5 separate regions of the Homo sapiens genome follow, and regions 2, 3, 4 and 5 are each linked to region 1. The links are contacts of gene promoters, found by promoter capture Hi-C in blood cells and fetal thymus (Javierre and others, 2016). All regions are on one chromosome and are shown on one strand. Each heading gives the region's core, a stretch centred on a gene start or on the middle of the fragment in contact. The rest is flanking DNA. Distances are from core to core; before and after follow the strand shown.

What was found. The method cuts DNA at HindIII sites, captures the fragments that hold promoters and counts their contacts. A CHiCAGO score of 5 or more calls a contact.
Region 2: a fragment that was not itself captured here is called in contact with the fragment with the promoter of AGBL2 in region 1 in 2 of 17 cell types (naive B cells and total B cells); the score reaches 9.2 in naive B cells.
Region 3: a contact is called between a fragment that was not itself captured here and the fragment with the promoter of AGBL2 in region 1, in 1 of 17 cell types (activated CD4 T cells). The highest score is 5.2, in activated CD4 T cells.
Region 4: a contact is called between a fragment that was not itself captured here and the fragment with the promoter of AGBL2 in region 1, in 1 of 17 cell types (total B cells). The highest score is 5.4, in total B cells.
Region 5: a fragment that was not itself captured here is called in contact with the fragment with the promoter of AGBL2 in region 1 in 3 of 17 cell types (megakaryocytes, activated CD4 T cells and monocytes); the score reaches 8.3 in megakaryocytes.

What each region holds. Positions count from the first base shown.
Region 1 is chr11:47,712,702-47,716,745 of GRCh38, forward strand. It overlaps AGBL2 (AGBL carboxypeptidase 2), which reads right to left and starts at 2,668. Exons shown (of 19, transcript NM_024783.4): 1 at 2,474-2,668; 2 at 1,917-2,049; 3 at 1,583-1,646. The coding sequence starts at 1,949. It overlaps FNBP4 (formin binding protein 4), which reads right to left. Exons shown (of 17, transcript NM_015308.5): 17 at 3,793-4,044. RefSeq lists an enhancer at 2,346-2,405. The HindIII fragment of the contact is 6,151 bases long and covers 1-3,831 here.
Region 2 is chr11:48,116,396-48,120,680 of GRCh38, forward strand. The region is part of intron 3 of PTPRJ (protein tyrosine phosphatase receptor type J); the gene reads left to right. Among named protein-coding and RNA genes, the nearest start is that of MIR3161, 22 kb to the left of the region's middle. The HindIII fragment of the contact is 1,475 bases long and covers 1,426-2,900 here.
Region 3 is chr11:47,273,185-47,277,226 of GRCh38, forward strand. It overlaps MADD (MAP kinase activating death domain), which reads left to right. Exons shown (of 37, transcript NM_001376571.1): 2 at 643-792; 3 at 1,379-1,975; 4 at 2,715-3,018; 5 at 3,548-3,679. The coding sequence starts at 731. Among named protein-coding and RNA genes, the nearest start is that of MADD-AS1, 3.1 kb to the left of the region's middle. The HindIII fragment of the contact is 3,506 bases long and covers 1-3,028 here.
Region 4 is chr11:48,149,685-48,153,857 of GRCh38, forward strand. It overlaps PTPRJ (protein tyrosine phosphatase receptor type J), which reads left to right. Exons shown (of 25, transcript NM_002843.4): 17 at 306-314; 18 at 412-499; 19 at 4,112-4,173. Among named protein-coding and RNA genes, the nearest start is that of MIR3161, 55 kb to the left of the region's middle. The HindIII fragment of the contact is 4,023 bases long and covers 1-3,439 here.
Region 5 is chr11:47,295,389-47,299,270 of GRCh38, forward strand. It overlaps MADD (MAP kinase activating death domain), which reads left to right. Exons shown (of 37, transcript NM_001376571.1): 23 at 108-191; 24 at 509-667. Among named protein-coding and RNA genes, the nearest start is that of MADD-AS1, 25 kb to the left of the region's middle. The HindIII fragment of the contact is 2,613 bases long and covers 671-3,283 here.

The DNA of each region.
Region 1 (4,044 bases), core at 1,418-3,917:
GAGAACAGCCTGGCCAACATGAGGAAACCCTGTGTCTACTAAAAATACCAAAATTAGGCCGAGCGTGGTGGCTCATGCCTGTAATCTTGGCATTTTGGGAGGCTGAGGTGGGTGGATCACCTGAGGTCAGTTCGAGACCAGCCTGGCCAACATGGTGAAACCGTTTCTACTAAAAATACAAAATTAGCCAGGCATGGTGGTACACGCCTGTAATCCCAGCTACCTGGGTACTTGGGAGGCTGAGGCAGGAAAATCGCTTGACCCCGCGAGGTGGAAGTTGCAGCAAGCCTAGATTGCACCACTGCACTCCAGCCTGGGCAACAAGAGCATAACTCCGTCTCAAGAATAAAAAAAACACTGGGCGCGGTAAGCTCACGTCTGTAATCCCACCACTTTGGGAGGCCTAGGCAGGTGGATCACCTGAGGTCAGGAGTTCAAGACCAGCCTGGCCAACATGTTGAAACCCCGTCTCTACTACAAATACACAAAAAAATTAGCTGGGAGTGGTGGTGGGCGCCTGTAATCCCAGCTACTTGGGAGGCTGAGGCAGGAGAATCTCTTGAACCCAGGAGGTGGAGGTCGCAGTGAGCCGAGATTGCGCCATTGCATTTCAGCCTGGGTGAAAAGAGTGAGACTCTATCGCAAAAAAAAAAAAAAAAAGAAAGAAACAAAAATTACCCAGGCGTGGTGGCTCGTGCCTGTAATCCCAGCTACTCAGGAGGCTGAGGCAGGAGAATCTCTTGAACCTGGGAGGCAGAGGTTGCAGTGAGCCGAGATCGTGCCACTGCACTCCAGCCTGGGCGACAGGGTGAGACTTCATCTCAAAATAAATAAAAAATAAAATAAAATGTCATAAGCCAATTGCAAAATTTATTTTTTTAAATTTTTATTTATTTATTTTTTTTGAGACAGAGTCTCACTCTGTCGCCCAGGCTGGAGTGCAGTGGCTTGATCTCGGCTCACTGCAAGCTCCGCCTCCCAGGTTCACGCCATTCTCCTGCCTCAGCCTTCCCAGTAGCTGGGACTACAGGCACCCACCACCACGCCCGGCTAATTTTTTTGTATTTTTAGTAGAGACGGGGTTTCACCGTGTTAGCCAGGATGGTCTCGATCTCCTGACCTCGTGCTCCACCCGTCTCGGCCTCCCAAAGTGCTGTGATTACAGGTGTGAGCCACCGTGCCCGGCCGCCAATTGTAAAATTTATATAGTAAGGCAAAGACTCAAGAACAGCCGTGACACTTCTGAAGAACAAGGTGGGAAGACATGTCTTTCCAGATAAAGACTATTTTAATGCCATATAGTAATTAAGAGACAGTGATACTGGTAAAGGATAGCCAAACAGACCAATGGAATAGAGAGCCCAGAAACAGACCTTTGTATTAAGTGATGCTGTCTACTTGACAGAGGTGACCCGCAGATCAATGGGGAAAGGAAGTACTTTTCACTAATGGTAGAGGAAAAAGTATTTATTTGTCAATGCAAATTATTTATTAGTCTACCCAAGTGCAACCCTCCCAGCTAACGAAGCAATTTTCCTCTTGAGTCCAGGAAAGGTGATACTAGATAAGAACATGGTATTACCTTTAAAGTAGCCATAATATTGGAGGTGACGGTACATAAAGTCTTCATAAGGATCAGGAATAGTCTGTGAAAGGAAAGGCCACTTCAATCAAGATAATGTTTTCAAACCATAATAGACTCAACAAAAAGTACATGAGCGTTGTTGCATAGGACTAGACTAAACCAAGCGAGCTGCATTCCATGCGAATTATTCTATCGTGGGGATCAAGATCTCCAGCTGAGAAAAGATGCCACCAGAACATCCCTTCTCATCTAGTAGCAGATTTCTGTGGAGTTCCCGAAGAAATGGAGTTCCCCGAAGAAATTTCTGTGGCTTTCCGTGTTGTGTACCGACCTGCTTTAGGTGCGTTTCCAAAGCTGGGAACATGTTACTTCTGGATGGTAGGCTGAAAACTAGTCAGTGACATTAGCATCCAGTCGCAAACCCTGCCCAATTTCCAAATAGGCAGCTGATTACACAAGAGAAGCTACAAAGCCACAAGAGGACAAGTGAAAAAACTGCCAATACCTCCCCGGGCGCCCCCCAGCTCCCTCTTGACTTCAGAAAACCCTGCCAACCCAGCTTCTCCTCAGCTAAACAAGGTGGTCACGCCGAGGCCAGAGGTGCATCTGAGACAGGGAGGGCAGCGTATCTTCCCGCTTCTTCTTCCCAAGGTGCTGGCCCCATGCTTCCCTTTCCCTGAGAAAGGAGATGCTCGCCACAGGAAAGTGAAAGAAATGGGTATGGGAGCACGCGACGAAGTCGTCTCGGTAGGTGCCGATGGAAAAAGGTCAGGGGGTTGGGAAAGTGGGCCCTAAAGATTGAATTTAGGGTTCAGAGGAACCTGGTCTGGGGCAGGTGGTGAGGGGGTTTCCTAAGGGTAGGAGCGGGGAAGGAGAGCAGAAACTTCCCAGGAGGGCAGAGCGATGGATGCGACCGCCTTCGCGCCCCGGCCCGTCCCAAGCAGCACGGATGGCTGCGGCAGAGAAGCTCCAGCGAGGCAGGCGGCCACCGCACTTAAGTACAGAGGCCAAGCAGTGTGCGGGCAAGGGGACAAACTCGCTGCACCCGCCCGCCACCGCCTTCTGTGAGGGCCCGGGTAGTCTAGCAACCGAAAGCAGGAAGCGGAGAAAGGGCGGGGCGGTCGGGCGCTTCCGGGGAGCTAGGCCTCGCCCCCAAGGAGGGAGCGGGGACCCCGGGAAGGTCTGCAACATGTATGGCGGGCAGCGGCTTTCTTCCCCTCATACATCACAGCCCCAGCCTCGGAATCGAAACCGCATTGATGAGTACGATGCCAGTAGCCTTCAACATACTTCCAAGCTGGTTTGCTGTTGGCTTTAGATAACTGTTATGCATAATTTGCTCTAAGAGAGCTGCTGCTTCTCTCCTTTCACCTTAACATTCTCTCCACTGCACAGCTAGAAAGGAAAAATTACCTTCTACACTGCAAATCTTAAGAAACAGAGCTAACAAATTCAAATCACACATTTTGATTAGGTTTAAAAAAATCAATTATATGCATAGAAATTTACTCCAGGCCAGGCGCGGTGGCTCTCGCCTGTAATCCCAGAACTTTGGGAGGTCGAGAGTTGGAGACTAGCCTGACCAACATGGAAAAACCCCATCTCTACTAAAAATACAAAATTAGCTGGGTGTGGTGGCGCATGCCTGTAATCCCAGCTACTCGGGAGGCTGAGGCAGGAGAATCACTTGAACCTGGGAGGCGGAGGTTGCGGTGAGCCGAGATCGTGCCATTGCACTCCAGCCTGAGCAACAAGAGCGAAATTCTGTCTCCAGAAAAAAAAAAAACAAAAAACCAACAACAAAAAAATAAATATACTACAATAAAATTCAAACACGTGTCTTTGGTTAACTATATATGAATATAACCGTATCTGTTACTTTTATCAGTGGGGGGAAAAAAGCTATAAAGCACCTTTTTTTCTGAAATGTTAACCATATTACATCATTGCCAGGAATTAAGTAGGTAAAATATTATCTAATATGGCTATTAACCAATCTAGATATTATAGATAATATTAGACCCCAAAACTTTGATCACACAGCACCATCTGGGACTAGAAGCCTGTTTGTCTAAACTGGCCCCACCACTCCCCATTAAAGATCTCCTGCTCATTTTCTTGAAAGCTGTTGTTAAATGTTTGCACCTTGCATTGTATATGCTTAGAAAAAAAAACAAGTCCTGGTTACATAATCAGAATAACAGGAGTTGACGAGCAAAAGGATAACCCATCAGGATTATAAAAAAAGCTTTATTAGTGCATATATACAAATTTACAAGGTCAGAAACTGGAGAAATACAAAGAGCTTTAAAACACAATTTGCCGTTTCCTCAGTTTAAAGTGACTTTTACCTGATTGTGATACAACAGAAAGTACAGAACAGTAAACTGCTTTTTAAATACTGGAATTTTATGGAGAATACATTCACATAAAGAAAGGAGGTGAATTTTGTTTTGGAA
Region 2 (4,285 bases), core at 913-3,412, 400 kb after region 1:
CCCAGCATTGGAATGCCTAAATATATAAAGCAAATATTAATGGATCTGAATGGACAGATTGACTGCAATGCATTCATAGTAGAGGACTTCCACCACCTTACTTCCAGCAATGGACAATGATCCAGACAGGAAATCAATAAGGAAGCATCAGACTTAAACTACAGTTTAGACCAAATGGATGTATCAGACATATACAGAACATTCCATCCAACAGCTGTAGAATACACACTTTTCAACTGCACCTGGAACATTCTCCAGGTAGATCATATGTTAGACCACAAAACAAGTGTTAACAGATTTAAGAAGTGTGAAATCATATCAAGTATCTTTTCTGATGATGGCATCAAACTAGAAATAAATAACAGGAGGAACTTAAGAAAATTCACAGATATATGGAAATTAAACAACATGCTCCTGAATAACTAATGGGTTGATGATGAAATTAAAAGGGAAACTAAAAAATATCTTGAGACAAACATCACTTCTTAAGCAATTTTGTTAACATATTTCTTTTTCTTCTTTAAAATGGTGCCATAACCTCCTTCATGAAATTGCTGTGAGACATAAATTAGAAAATGCTTGTACAGCCCCTGGTATAGGATCTGTCCCCAGGTCACTTACAGCAGGTCCCCAGCAGGGGTCATGCTGATCTTGCCATCTCCCACAGTAACTATTGTTAATTGTTTTGTCACAAATGCCCCTGAACAATCAATGGGTCAGTGAAGAAATTAAAAGGGACATTTAAAAATTTCTTGAAGCAAATGAAAATGGAAACACAATATACTAAAGCCTATGGGATACACCAAAAGCAGCCCTTCCAAGAAAGTTGACAGCAATAAACTCCTACATCAAAAAAGAAAGCTCCCTGGGCACAGTGGCTCGTGCCTGTAATCCCAGAACTTTGGGAGGCCGAGATGGGCGGATCACTTGAGGTCAGGAGTTCGAGACCAGCCTGGCCAACATGGTGAAACCCCGTCTCTACTAAAAATACAAAAATTAGCTGGGTGTAGTGACACACACCTGTAATCCCAGCTACTAGGAAGGCTGAGGCAGGAGAATTGCTTGAACCCAGAGGGCAGAGATTGCAGTGAGCCGAGATCGCACCACTGCACTCCAGCCTGGGCAACAGAGCAAGATTCTGTCTCAAAAAAAAAAAAAAAAAAAAAAAAAAAAAAAAAAAGCAAGCTCATACCTCCAGCCTGGGTTTTGAGAGCCTGTCTGAAAAAAACAAAACAAAACCCTCAAGTAAATAACCTAATGTAGCACGTTAAGGAACTAGAAAAATAAGAACAAACTAATCTTCAAATTAGTAAAAGGAACAAAATAATAAAGGTCAAAGCTGAAATAAATGAAATAGGCACTAGAAAAACAATAGAAAAGATCAATAAACTAAGTTGTTTTTTTGAAAACAAAGAACATTGACAAAGCTTTAGCTAGACTAAGAAAAAAGAGACGCTACTCAAATAAGAAAATCAGAAATGAGACATTATAAACTGATACCACAGAAATACAAAGGAACAATTATGAACAATTATATGCCAACAAATTGGATAACCTAGAAGAAATGGATAAATTCCTTGCCATATACCATTTACTATGATTGAATTATGAAGAAATAGAAAATCTGAATAATCCAATAATGAGTTAGGAGATTGAATCAGTAATAGACCATCTCCCATTTCTATTTATTACTGTTGTTATTCTAAGAGACAGTGACTCCCTCTGTCACCCAGGCTGGAGTACAGTGGTGTGATCATAGATCACTGTAAGTTGAACTCCTGGGCTGAAATGATCCTTCTGCCTTAGCCTCTCAAGTAGCTGTGGCTATTGGTGTGCACCACTACATCCAGCTAACTTTTAAAATTTTTTTGTAGAGATGGGGTCTCACTGTGTTGCCCAGGCTGCTCTTGAACTCCCAGCCTCAAGTGACCCCCACCACCTTGGCCTCCCGAAGTGCTGAGATTACAGGTGTGAGCCACCCAGTCCTCTGCCAAACCTTTAAAGAAGATCTAATGACAGTTCTTCTCAATTGCTTCCAAAAATTGAGGAGGAGAGAATACTTCCAAACTCATTTAACAAGAGCAGTATTACCTTGATACGAAAACCAGACAAGGATACAACCCAAAACACTATAGGCCAAGATGCAAAAATCTTTAACCAAATACTAGCAAACCTAATTTAACAGCATATTAAAGAGATCATTCACCATGATCAACTGGGATTCTTCCTAGAAATACAAAAAGGGTTCAACCTGTGCAAAACAATAAATGTGCTACACCATATTAACAGAATGGAGGACAGAAACCATACAATCATTTCAGTAGATGCAGAAAAAACATTTGACCAAAAAATATTGTTAACTGTGCTTTCTTTTCTGAACTTAAGAACTTGCTTTTCCAAAACCTTCCCAGAATCCCTGTATGAATCAACAAAATTTAGTTCTTAACACATTTCTCCTTCTTTAAAATGGTGACATTAGCTGGGCATGATGGTGTGTGCCTTTAATCCCAGCTACTTGGGAGGCTGAGGCAGGAGAATCGCCTGAACCCGGGAGGCAGAGGTTGCAGTGAGCCAAGATCACGCCACTACACTCCAGTCTGGGTGACGAGCAAGACTTCGTCTCAAAAAAAAAAAAAAAAAAAAAAGAAATAATGGTGCCATACCTTTCTCATGAAGTTGTTGTGAGGCATAAATGAGAACATACTTGTACAGCATCTGGGACATGGACGGCCTCTCAAAAGGAGTGCTGCTGTTCTTGCTACCTGCACCACTGTAACTGATGTTGTTTCATCATCCTCGTCACCATCATTGTTATTGATTGTAAATGGAAGCACAGTGGTCATCTTCCAAATATGCCACTCTGACTCTGTGAACTTGTCACTTTATAAAGAGGAAATTCAAGCTTGGAGGGGCCTTCTGGCATGACGTTTATTGAATTGTGGGGCACAAGATGCTTCCCTGCTTGTTCCATTTTCCTTTCTCTTGTTTATTCTCCTGCCTTATTTATTTATTTTTTCTTTTGAGACAGAGTCTTGCTCTGTTGCCCAGGCTGGAGTGCAGTGGTGTGATCTTGGTTCACTGCAAACTCTGCCTCCTGGGTTCAAGTGATTCTCCTGCCTCAGCTTCCCGAGTAGCTGGGATCACAGGTGGCTGCCACCATGCCCAATTAATTTTTGTATTTTTGGTAGAGACGGGGTTTCACCATGTTGGCCAGGCTGGTGTCGAACTCCTGACCTCAAGTGATCTGATCTGCCTGCCTCAGCCTCCCAAAGTGCTGGGATTACAGGCATGAGCCAGTGTGCCTGGCTTCCTGCAGTTTTTTTATTGATTGGATGAATGTTTGTATATCCCATGAGCCAGATGAGGCACACTGTCCATGCACATAGCAAGATGGTAACACTTACACCATCTTTACTCTTTTGGGATTAGTCCCAAGCTCCTTGAGAATGACTGCCGTATCACCTGGGTTTTACTCTTCGGTTTCTGGTTGTTACTCCTCAGTCTTCAGCTCAATTAGGATGCATCCATTTGGTAGTTTTACAGTTAGTAACCCTGATGGCTTCCACTGGTTTACGATCTTGTACATCTAAGATGATGAAACTAAGGTTCAGAGAGGTGAGATGACTTTGAGTAAAATTGCATGGTGAGCAACTAGCAGAATTGGACCCTGAAACCAGATTTCTAATGTCCAAATCTTGTCCCTTGTTTATCATATCATGGTGGTTCAATAATAATTCTTCGTGTTTAGTGTGGTGTACTAGAGCTATCAACAGAGAAACTTGAGACTGAGAGGTTTGAAGGGACTAATTCTAGGTCACACAGCTAATGGATGGAGCAGGTCTTTAATCCCAGATCTGGGTTCCAAGACCAGTCCTTTTCTCTTTACGCTGCTCTGTCCCTGCTATCTTTATGTCAGAAAACCACTGAGCTTCCTTCTAGATGTCAGGGTTTGGCAAAAAAGTTATCATGTGCTTCTGCGTCATGCAGCGTTTTCTGAGAATGGGGAGAGGGACTCATTTTGCATCTTTGATCTCTCTTTTTTATTTTGAGATGGAGTCTCGGTCTTGTCGCCCAGGCTGGAGTGCAGTGGCGCGATCTTGGCTCACTGCAACCTCCACCTCCCGGGTTCAAGTGATTCTACTGCCTCAGCCTCCCGAGTAGCTAGGATTACAGGTGACTGCCACCACACCCAGCTAATTTTTTTTTGTTTTTTTTGTTTTTTTAGTAGAGGTGGGGTTTCACCATGTTGGCCAGGGTGGTCTTGAACTCCTGACCTCAGGTGATC
Region 3 (4,042 bases), core at 26-2,525, 440 kb before region 1:
CCCTGGAGGGATCCTGAGAGTGACTTCAATTTTTGTTACAATGACTGAGTCCAGATTAGATGGCCTAGGTCTGTTTTTCAGAAACAGAGCCCCAGGCGTTAAGCTGGAAATTAAGTCATTGGTAGGGATAGGTAGGTGAACCATTATTTATCTACATTTTTTTTTTTTTCTTGAGACGGAGTCTCACTCTGTCACCCAGGCTCGAGTGCAGTGGTGCGATCTCAGCTCACCACAGCCTCCACCTCCTGGGTTCAAGCGATTCTCATGCCTCAGACTCCCGAGTAGCTGGGATTACAGATGTGTGCCACCACACCCGGCTAATTTTTTTGTATTTTTAGTAGAGATGGGGTTTTGCCATGTTGGCCAGCTGGTCTCAAACTCCTGACCTCAGGTGATCCGCCTCGGCCTCCCAGAGTTCTGGGATTACAGGCGTGAGCCACCATGCCTGGCCTATCTATTTTTTAACATTCGATTCTGTGAGCTCATGAGCCTAGACACGAGGCTAGGCAAGCGTCAAGTTCTCCTATCATTAGTATGAAAGTGGAAGACCTTCTGACCTCTGCCTCTGGCCGGGAAGAAGTTGAGAGGGATGAGTCCCTTAGGCACAGCAGTGGATCTTATCAGTACTTTTTTTCCTATTAGACTTCGATTTTCAGAATTCCTCCTGGGAATGCTGACTCCTTGCTTGGTGCCCTGATGCTTCTCTGAGATAAACTGATGAATTGGAACCATGGTGCAAAAGAAGAAGTTCTGTCCTCGGTTACTTGACTATCTAGTGATCGTAGGGGCCAGGTAACCAAGAAGAGATTGACTTTTGTCTTAATATCTGGGATAGCCATAAAATCTGCAGTTGTTCCCTTCTCCGATTTCCATGTTGCTTTGCATAGCTCATCTTCTCCTGTTATTTTACCCTGATGGGAGCATCGAAGCCAGTAGGGAAAAAACAAAATCAGGTGGATTGAAAGCAAAACCCTGCTCTTAACTAACATCTTCTTGATGTCGAGCAAATATACTCTTTATACCTCAGTTTTCTTATTTTGTAAAAAGAAAAAGTACATTATAAGCTACTCCTCTATGTATACTTTTTTGGTAATTTATTAGTTAATTCACTTTAAAAGATGTTAATCATCTTAAGGTGCCAGTGATAATTTTATTGTCAAAATCTCCCCTTCGTTTCAGAATAGATGCCTTCATGACAGTGTAGACTTCACTTAGGTTACCAGCTCCATGCGGCAGGCAGCACCCATATTTTCCAAGGTGTTACAGTCAGGTTACTTTATCCAAAATAGCATCTTGAGCTTTATTTGTTGACTGTGGTTAAAATTTGATAGCCCATTCCATCCCTTCAGGCTGCTGAATTTGTCTTTATGTTCTTCAGGCACCCGAGCAGTGATAGCGTGGCCCAGACTCCTGAATTGCTACGGCGATACCCCTTGGAGGATCACACTGAGTTTCCCCTGCCCCCAGATGTAGTGTTCTTCTGCCAGCCCGAGGGCTGCCTGAGCGTGCGGCAGCGGCGCATGAGCCTTCGGGATGATACCTCTTTTGTCTTCACCCTCACTGACAAGGACACTGGAGTCACGCGATATGGCATCTGTGTTAACTTCTACCGCTCCTTCCAAAAGCGAATCTCTAAGGAGAAGGGGGAAGGTGGGGCAGGGTCCCGTGGGAAGGAAGGAACCCATGCCACCTGTGCCTCAGAAGAGGGTGGCACTGAGAGCTCAGAGAGTGGCTCATCCCTGCAGCCTCTCAGTGCTGACTCTACCCCTGATGTGAACCAGTCTCCTCGGGGCAAACGCCGGGCCAAGGCGGGGAGCCGCTCCCGCAACAGTACTCTCACGTCCCTGTGCGTGCTCAGCCACTACCCTTTCTTCTCCACCTTCCGAGAGTGTTTGTATACTCTCAAGCGCCTGGTGGACTGCTGTAGTGAGCGCCTTCTGGGCAAGAAACTGGGCATCCCTCGAGGCGTACAAAGGTACAGTTTGCTGCTGATGCCTAATGGGGGAAGCATTTAGAGATTCCATGTAATTGGTCTTTGAGGGGCATAGGAAATTTCCTCTACAGCTCAAGGTCCTTCAGACCTATTAAGCATATTTAGAGTATTTAGAGTTAATCTTTTTTCTTTTGGAGACAGTCTCGCTCTGTTGCCCAGGCTGGAGTACAGTGGTGCGATCTCGGCTCACTGCAACCCCTGCCTCCTGGGTTCAAGTGATCCTTCTGCCTCAGCCTCCCGAGTAGCTGGGATTACAGGTGCACGCCACCATGACCAGCTAATTTTGGTATTTTTGTAGAGACAAGGTTTCGCCATGTTGGCCAGGCTGGTCTCAAACTCCTCACCTCAGGTGGTCCACCCACGTTGGCCTCCCAAAGTGCTGGGATTATAGGCGTGAGCATCATCCCCAGCCAAGAGTTAATCTTTACTAAGCAAAAGACTGCTGCAGAGTTAGACCTCTTTCCAAAATTGTGTTTGGAGTAATGCTGGAATTTGGTGTTTTAACTGTGGTTAGGACAGTAAGTCTTACCCAGTATATATCTTTACATTTGCTTTTGCCATTGTATATACTTTCCGGTCCTATCTGAGCTCAGAGACTGGGCTTTCTTAATGATGCTCCGTTTCCCATTGTCATCATTAGAGCCTCTGTGGTGATACTGAGTTGCAGTAGGGTATCAGCTTCTGATGCTAATGTGTCTGATTCCTGCTGTCTGCTTCTCAGGGACACCATGTGGCGGATCTTTACTGGATCGCTGCTGGTAGAGGAGAAGTCAAGTGCCCTTCTGCATGACCTTCGAGAGATTGAGGCCTGGATCTATCGATTGCTGCGCTCCCCAGTACCCGTCTCTGGGCAGAAGCGAGTAGACATCGAGGTCCTACCCCAAGAGCTCCAGCCAGCTCTGACCTTTGCTCTTCCAGACCCATCTCGATTCACCCTAGTGGATTTCCCACTGCACCTTCCCTTGGAACTTCTAGGTGTGGACGCCTGTCTCCAGGTGCTAACCTGCATTCTGTTAGAGCACAAGGTGAGAGGCAAGCTTCCTAGACCTTTCTAGGGGAGAAACTCTTAAATATGCCAGTGGCCAGACCACGAGCTCTTAGAGGACAGGGACTACATATTTTTCACCTTTTTGTCTTCAGGAGGTAACATGATGCCTGGTAAACAGCAGGTGTTCCGTAGATGTGGGTTGAATTAAGATACTGGTATCATGTGGGATGTATTTAGAGGGTTTACCATTCATTAGGGCTTATCCTTAATTGTACTGACCTAATTCTTTGGAAATATCAGTAGTTCTGTTTCAGTGAGTGGTCCTGGGATGGGCAGTACAAGAACTAGGAAGGTAAGGGAGTGATTTGCATATCTCAGGTGACTGAGGATCACCATTGTGCCTGGATTGGGAGGTGGCAGGCATGGTGGGGCAGGGGGCAGTGGGAGAGACAAAGCTGGAGCTGTAGGCTCGATGAAGTGGAAACCAAGTTGTAATGTTGGAAGCTGTTTTCTTGTAAACCATATTTTATGTTTTGGAGTGATTCTTACTGGATGGCTCATGACAGGTGGTGCTACAGTCCCGAGACTACAATGCACTCTCCATGTCTGTGATGGCATTCGTGGCAATGATCTACCCACTGGAGTATATGTTTCCTGTCATCCCGCTGCTACCCACCTGCATGGCATCAGCAGAGCAGGTGAGTCTCAAGGCGACTTCCGGCTTTCTCACCTCTGTCTTCCTGAGGGAGGAGGCTTAATGCTCAAAGAAGTTGTAAGTGAGTGCTGGTCCTCAATCCTTTGTCATAACTTATTTGTCTACAAAATCTGACTGATTTGAACTGATCTGGTGGCAAGGCTTATGCTATTTTAGTTTTCATTTATCACAACAAATGTTAATGACTGTAGGCCACTGGCTACACTGCAGCAGGTGTTACGTGTGTTACGTAATACAGTAGTTCCTCCTTATCTGTGGAGGACACATTCCAAGACCCACCAGTGGATGCCTCAAACCACAGATAGTTCCAAACTCTATAGATACTTTGTTTTTTTCTATACATATA
Region 4 (4,173 bases), core at 178-2,677, 440 kb after region 1:
TCATGTTCTACTCTTCTACCAATAAATACGGATTTCTTGATTAAAAAAACGTCAAATAGGTTATCAAGATCCAGGGGAGAGAAGAACTTACTTAAAGTCACAAAACCAATTAGTTACAAAGTAGGGTCTAGAAATCAGATTTCCTGAATCATATTTTAGTGTTTTGTGAATAATAGTACTCTGACCCCCTCTTGCCAAATTATACCCTGGGTTTTGTTGTTTTGGGAAGATTGTTTACTGTCATTTCTAGAGTATGAATGAGTCTTTCTAATTGCATATTTTTTCTTTCCCTTTCTATCATGAAGACCTAAAAAGTGAGTAATCTCTTTATTTTTTTTAATAACTTGTACTTTTCTATTGAATATGGACTTCACTGAATGTAAAAAATCCTGATAAGTTTTGTTTTCTTAGATCTAAGTTAATCAGAGTGGAGAATTTTGAGGCCTACTTCAAGAAGCAGCAAGCTGACTCCAACTGTGGGTTCGCAGAGGAATACGAAGTATGTTGCTGTAAATACTGTTTTTAATTGTGTCAGGTTCCAACCCAAGCTGGGATCTGAGGGGAGTTGGTGGATGGGTGGCAGGTAGCTGAAAGAACACTCGAGGGACTGTAGGCAGTTGGGACATGGCTTTATTCTCTCTCCTACAGAGTCAGCAGTGCAGTTATATTACTCACAGACAATAGTGGCTCAAAGCCAGGTATGAACTCACACAAACAGGTTACATTAAATGGCTATATAACGCAAGGGGTTGTTGCGCTCCAAACCCTTTGCGTCATACTGTCCTGGATGTCTACCTTGGACTACTCCTGACTGAAGCACAGCCACTTTCCTTAGAAATTGGCTTGTTTTTCCTGAAAGTTAGAAAACTGTTAACAGAAACTAGGAATTCAAGTCAGGGAACTGTTAGCCACAATACTTAGGAAGCTATATGAGCTGGAAAGAAACCAAATGGGCATGTAGAGGTCTGGGGCTTGATGGCAGTGTGGCCTAGGATGGCTTGTGAGGCTCACTTCTGAAGCCCTGCACAAGGAATTTCTTGGCCAGTGTCTGCCTTTCAGTTCCCCATGCTGTGCTCCAACCAGCCCAGGAACCAGCCCTGCTCAGAGTGACCATGCACACTCGTCCTCCTGTGCTGCCCTGTCCAGCATCTCTGCCTTTGCTCTCTTGAAATCCTGCTCAGCACTCAGCACAGTGCACATGCTGCTTCCTCCATGGGCATTCTGGGATCCCATTAGGAGGACTTGAGTTCTGTGTGCTCAGACTGCCTTGTTTCCCCTGTTGCTTGTTACCAATATTCAGCATTTCTTTAATTCTGCCTTTTTGTAATGTTAGTTTTTTCTGTGTACAGTACACCTCTCCTCCAGGTTGCAACTGCTTGAAGGCAAGGGTTATCCTTTTTCCTATATTCTAACCTTTGTATTAGTTCTCTAGGCTGCCATAAAAAAGCACCACAAACTGGGAGGCTGAAAACAACAGAAATTTACTGTCTAGAGGCCACAAGTCCCAAATTAAGGTGTGGGCAGGGTCACACTCCCTTCTAAACCTCTGGGCAGCGCCCTTCCTTGCCTCCGCAGCTTCTGGGAGCCCCAGGCGTCCCTTGGTTTTGTGGCAGCAACACTCTGATGTCTGCCTCTGTGTTCACATGGCCATCTCCCCTCATGTGTCTATGTCTCTTTGTCTCTTTTCCTCCTATAAGGACACTAGTCATATGGGATTCAGGGCCCACTCTAATCTAGTATGATCTCATTTTAATTTGTTTACATTTGTAAAGAGCCTTTTTTTTTTATACTTTAAGTTCTAGGATACATGAGCACAACATGCAGGTTTGTTACATATGTGTACATGTGCCATGTTGGTGTGCTGCACCCATTAACTCATCATTTACATTAGGTATATCTCCTAATGCTATCCCTCCCCCCACCCCATGACAGGCCCCGGTGTGTGATGTTCCCCTCCCTGTGTCCAAGTGTTCTCATTGTTCAATTCCCACCTATGAGTAAGAACATGCGGTGTTTGGTTTTCTGTCCTTGCGATCGTTTGCTGAGAATGATGGTTTCCAGCTTCATCCATGTCCCTACAAAGGACCTGAACTCATCCTTTTATGGCTGCATAGTATTCCATGGTGAATGTGTGCCACATTTTTCTTAGTCCAGTCTATCATTGATGGGCATTTCGGTTGGTTCCAAGTCTTTGCTATTGTGAATAGTGCTGCAATAAACATACATGTGCATGTGTCTTTATAGCAGCATGATTTATAATCCTTTGGGTATATACCCAGTAATGGGATGGCTGGGTCAAATGGTATTTCTAGTTTCATATCCTTGAGGAATCACCACATTGTCTTCCACAATGGTTGAACTAGTTTACAGTCCCAACAACAGTGTAAAAGTGTTGCTATTTCTCCACATCCTCTCCAGCACCTGTTGTTTCCTGACTTTTTAATGATTGCCATTCTAACTGGTGTGAGATGCTATCTCATTGTGGTTTTGATTTGCATTTCTCTGATGGCCAGCGATGATGAGCATTTTTTCATGTGTCTTTTGGCTGCATAAATGTCTTCTTTTGAGAAGTGTCTGTTCATATCCTTCGCCCACTTTTTGATGGGGTTGTTTGATTTTTTCTTGTAAATTTGTTTAAGTTCTTTGTAGTTTCTGGATATTAGCCCTTTGTCAGATGGGTAGATTGCAAAAATTTTCTCCCATTCTGTAGGTTGCCTGTTCACTCTGATGGTAGTTTCTTTTGCTGTGCAGAAGCTCTTTAGTTTAATTAGATCCAATTTGTCAATTTTGTCTTTTGTTGCCATTGCTTTTGGTGTTTTAGACGTAAAGTCCTTGCCCATGCCTATGTCCTGAATAGTATTGCCTAGGTTTTCTTCTAGGGTTTTTATGGTTTTAGGTCTGACATTTAAGTCTTTAATCCATCTTGAATTAATTTTTGTCAGTTTCAGCTTTCTACATATGGCTAGCCAGTTTTCCCAGCACCATTTATTAAATTGGGAATCCTTTCCCCATTGCTTGTTTTTGTCAGGTTTGTCAAAGATCAGATGGTTGTAGATGTGTGGTATTATTTCTGAGGGCTCTGTTCTGTTCCATTGGTCTATATCTCTGTTTTGGTACCAGTGCCATGCTCTTTTGGTTACTGTAGCCTTGTAGTATAGTTTGACGTCAGCTAGCATGATGCTTCCAGCTTTGTTCTTTTGGCTTAGGATTGTCTTGGCAGTGCAGGCTTGTAAAGAGCCTATTTCTAAATAAGATCCCACTCATAGGTATTGGGGGCGAGAAATCCAACATATCTTTTTGGGGCACAGTTTAACCCATATCACCTCTACATTTCCACTTTGTTCTTTTGCTACCAAAACACCACGGGTTTGGTCTAGGTCCTGCTCCTCACCTTTACAGAAAGCCAATCACTGAGATGACAAATATTGCCGGGGAAGAAAGCTTTAATCGGGTGCTGCAGCCAAGGAGATGGGAGCTGAATCTCAAATCCATCTCGCTGACTGACTAAAACCAGGGGTTTATACAGCAGGAAAGAAATGTAACAATGTGTAAGAAAACAGGAACTAGGGGCTGGGCATGGTGGCTCACGCCTGTAATCCCAGCACTTTGGGAGGCCAAGGTGGGTGGATCACGAGGTCAGGAGATCGAGACCATCCTGGCTAACATGGTGAAACCCCGTCTCTACTAAAAATACAAAAAATTAGCCAGGCGTGGTGGTGGGCGTCTGTAGTCCCAGCTACTCGGGAGGCTGAGGCAGGAGACCGCGCCACTGCACTCCAGCCTGGGCGACAGAGCGAGACTCTGTCTCAAAAAAAAAAAAAAAAAAAAAAAAAAGAAAACAGGAAGTAGGGAGGGGCAAGGAGGCATCTGGTGCAGTGATCTGACTAGTTTCAGTTCTTTGTTACTCCCTGAAGGTCCTTTCCTGAGAAAGGAACTCAGATAAAACAAATACAAGTTTCAGGCTTTAATAGCAGAAGGGTAAATTTCTATGTTTATTCAAAAACAACTTGTCTATGGGACTGTTGGGCTGGTTTCACTGTCATATGCTATGCTAAATATGAATAATATTTGAAGACTAAATAAATGAACACCTCATTTGTTTTGTTTTCAGGATCTGAAGCTTGTTGGAATTAGTCAACCTAAATATGCAGCAGAACTGGCTGAGAATAGAGG
Region 5 (3,882 bases), core at 727-3,226, 420 kb before region 1:
TGATAACAGAAGGGTGGGGATGAGGAGAAAGAAAAAGGTACAGTATTTCTGTGGGAAACTGAGAGGAGATTGGACACCTCCCCTAATGTTCCTGTGTCTTGTTTCAGAGGACTGATCAAGACTCTGTCATCGGCGTGAGTCCAGCTGTTATGATCCGCAGCTCAAGTCAGGATTCTGAAGTTAGCACCGTGGTAGGGGAACACCACACTGGCATCTTGGTGGGTGGGGTGTGGATTTCCCCTTTGGAAAAGGGTGCTACTTTCTCTTTGGAGGCTGCTCTGAGTCTCAGGTCAGCATGGTTCTCATGGTGGAGATGTTTACCATCATAGGTGTGTGTATACGAGATTTCACCCAGAGCTTCTCATCTTATAAAGAAGGTACTTCCAGAGGCTATCTGACACACTTTTGAAATTTAATACTTTTTTATGGTGGCAGGGAGCTCTAACAGCTTGGTATTTCTGGGGCCCATCCCTGGGGACTGTCTCTTACTACCTTTTTTCCTTTCCAGGTGAGTAATAGCTCTGGAGAGACCCTTGGAGCTGACAGTGACTTGAGCAGCAATGCAGGTGATGGACCAGGTGGCGAGGGCAGTGTTCACCTGGCAAGCTCTCGGGGCACTTTGTCTGATAGTGAAATTGAGACCAACTCTGCCACAAGCACCATCTTTGTAAGCTTTGTTTATTAACAAAAGAAAACCATTTCTTTAATGGGGGAGGGAAGCAGGCAAGAAAAGAATGAAAGTTAAGAGACGCTAAAGAGGTAAAGGTTAAATAAGGAAGAGGTAATCTTCTTATATTTGGCTTTAAGGAAAACATTTCTTAAGGCTTTGTTCAGAGTCATTTGACTCACAATCTGGGGCTTTTAGAACCCTCTCCTGAATCATTGATGAGTTAGGCTCCGTGCCCAGTCACGTAAGGGCTTTGAATCCTATGTAGTATTAACCCCCAGGTTTAACACAGGCAAAGTAATACCTTTGTGGCAATGTCAGGACAATTACAGCTCTCGTTTAGTACCAGTCTGCCTATTTCTATGGACTATCCAGTTTTATTTTGGTCACTGCTCTATTTATAAATAAAATAGCATTTTATTTTAGTATATTCCTAACAGTTATTTGAAGTTTTCATTCATTAATAAACATCCATGAAGTGATTTACTAAGTGCCAGATTTTGTGCTAAAGAAACAGGGATGAAAAAGGCATGGTTTCTACTCAAGAAGTTTGTGATTCACTATATTGCTGTGAGTAGTCTCTTCTAATAGGTGAGGGGAACAATGCCTTAGGAAAAAAGAACTTCCCTAGATCACACAGTAAGCCCATGATCAGCTGGAAGGAGATGAATTCTTTTTAGTCCTTGCCGTAGACATCTGTTTTTTGTTGTTTTTTTTTTTTTTTTTTTTTACACAGGGTCTCACTCTGTTGCCCAGGCTGGAGTGTAGTGGCACAGTCACTGCTCAACTGCTCACTGCAGCTTTGACCTGTTAGGCTCAAGTGATCCTCCCACCTCAGCCTCCCAAGTAGCTGGGACTGCAGGCATACACCACCATGCCTGGCTAATTTTTTAGTTTTTTGTAGAGATGGGGTTTCCCTCTGTTGTCTAGGCCAGTCTCAAACTCCTGGGTTAAGTGAGCCTCCTGCCTTGGCCTCTTAAAGTGGCATGAGCCACTGTGCCCAGCCTCTGCTTTTTAATGTGTATGTGCCTCTATAGGCTGTGTTAAAACACTGATAGACTTGTTACTTTATTAAACAGAGATGAGAATGGATGTTCTCTACAAGAGCTTATACGCATAGGTCCTTATCTTTAAGGCCTATGGGGAGAAAGGAAGATAAAAGTTAAATGAAACCAACTATTTAAAACTGGTTATCATTCCCACCCCCAGAGCCTTCTGTATGTGTGTTTTTAATAGAGTCAGTGACCTCCCAGAGTGGAGATTGGGAATAGGACTGAGAGGCTACTCAAGTTAATGGGCCTTAACTCTCTCTCAGTCTGAACAGACTGATTGGCTGATTGAGTGATTGATTTTTCTTTTGTGCTGACAGTTTATTAGGGGTTTTCTTTTCTTTTCTTTTTTTTTTTTTTGAGATGGAGTCTCGCTGTGTCACCCAGGCTGGAGTGCAGTGGTGCGATCTCGGCTCACGGCAAGCTCCGCCTCCTGGGTTCACACTCTTCTCTTGCCTCAGCCTCCCAAGTAGCTGGGACTACGGGTGCCCGCCACCACGCCCAGCTAATTTTTTGTATTTTTAGTGGAGATGGGGTTTCACCATGTTAGCCAGGACGGTCTTGATCTCCTGACTTCGTGATCTGCTCGCCTTGGCCTACCAAAGTGCTGGGATTACAGGCGTGAGCCACTGCTCCCGGCCAAGGGTTTTCAATAATGTTTTCTTTTCTTTTCTTTCTTTCTTTCTTTTTTTTTTTTTTTTTGAGATAGAATCTTGCTCTGTCGCCCAGGCTGGAGTGCAGTGGCGCGATCTCTGCTCACTGCAATCTCCACCTCCCAGGTTCACACCATTCTCCTTCCTCAGCCTCCCGAGTAGCTGGGACTACAGGCGCCCACCACCATGCCCGGCTAATTTTTTGTATTTTTAGGAGAGATGGGGTTTCACCGTGTTAGCCAGGATGGTATCAATCTCCTGACCTTGTGATCTGCCCACCTCGGCCTCCCAAAATGCTGGGATTACAGGCATGAGCCACCGCGCCCGGCCTTCTTTACATATTAGTTCAACCTTCACCACAAAATCTAACCATGGATCGTAAAAATTAAATTGGCAACGGGGCTAGCCTGCTATACTTCCTGTTTACTTTTAGATGCTTTTCAAACCAATAAGGATGACATTTGTGGTGGAAGGAGCCAGAGTAATAGGAAAATTACTTCTCTTCGCTTAGAAGAAAATCCTCCACCTTGAGCATCTTCTGAACTTTTTACTATAAGACATCTCAGTGCTTGCTTGTACTCTTCAGCCGCATAACTGTGAAGATAGCAACCATCAGTTTCTCATAAATGGAAGCGGCAGTGAGAACCGTCTACAGCAGTTTGGCTTCAAGGCCTGTGTAGAGGCCCATTATTCCAAAACACCTGTTAGCCATTTGTATGTCTTCTTTTGAGAGAGATCTATTCAGCTCATTTGCCCATTTTTAAATAGATTATTTGTGTTTTTTTGCTGTTGAGTTTTTTCTTTCTTGTATATTCTGGCTATTAATCCCTTGTCAGATGAATAGTTTGTAAATATTTTCTCCCATTCTGCAGACTGTCTCTTCACTCATTTCATCGTGTCCTTTGTTGTGTAGAAGCTTTTTAGTTTAATATAATCCTGTTTTTGCTTTTGCTTTTGTTGCCTGTACTTTTGAGGTCTCCATAAACTTTTTGCCCAGACCAATGTCCTGAAGCATTTCTGCTACGTTTTCTTCTAGTAGTTTTATAGTTTTGGGTCTTACAGTTAAGTCTTTAATCCATTTTGGGTTGATTTTTGTATATGGTGAGAGCTAAGGGGTCTAGTTTTATTTTTCTGAATAATGGATATCAAGTTTTCCGAGCAGCATTTATTGAAGAGACTGTCCCTATCCCCAGTGAATATTCTTGGTTCCTTTGTCAAAAAACAGTTGGCTATAAATATATGGATTTCTTTCTGGGTTCTCTATTCTGTTCCATTGGTCTATGGGTCTGTTTTTTATGCCAGTAGCATGCAGTTATGGTTACTATAGCTTTGTCTTATATTTTGAAGTCTAGTAGTGTGATTCCTTTTTGTCCAGGATTGTTTTGGCTATCTGGGGTCTTTTGTGGTTCCATATGAATTTTAGGATTTTTTTTCTATTTCTGTGAAGAATACCGTTGGTATTTTGGTAGGGATTGCATTGAATCTGTAGATCACTTTTGGTAGTATGGTCATT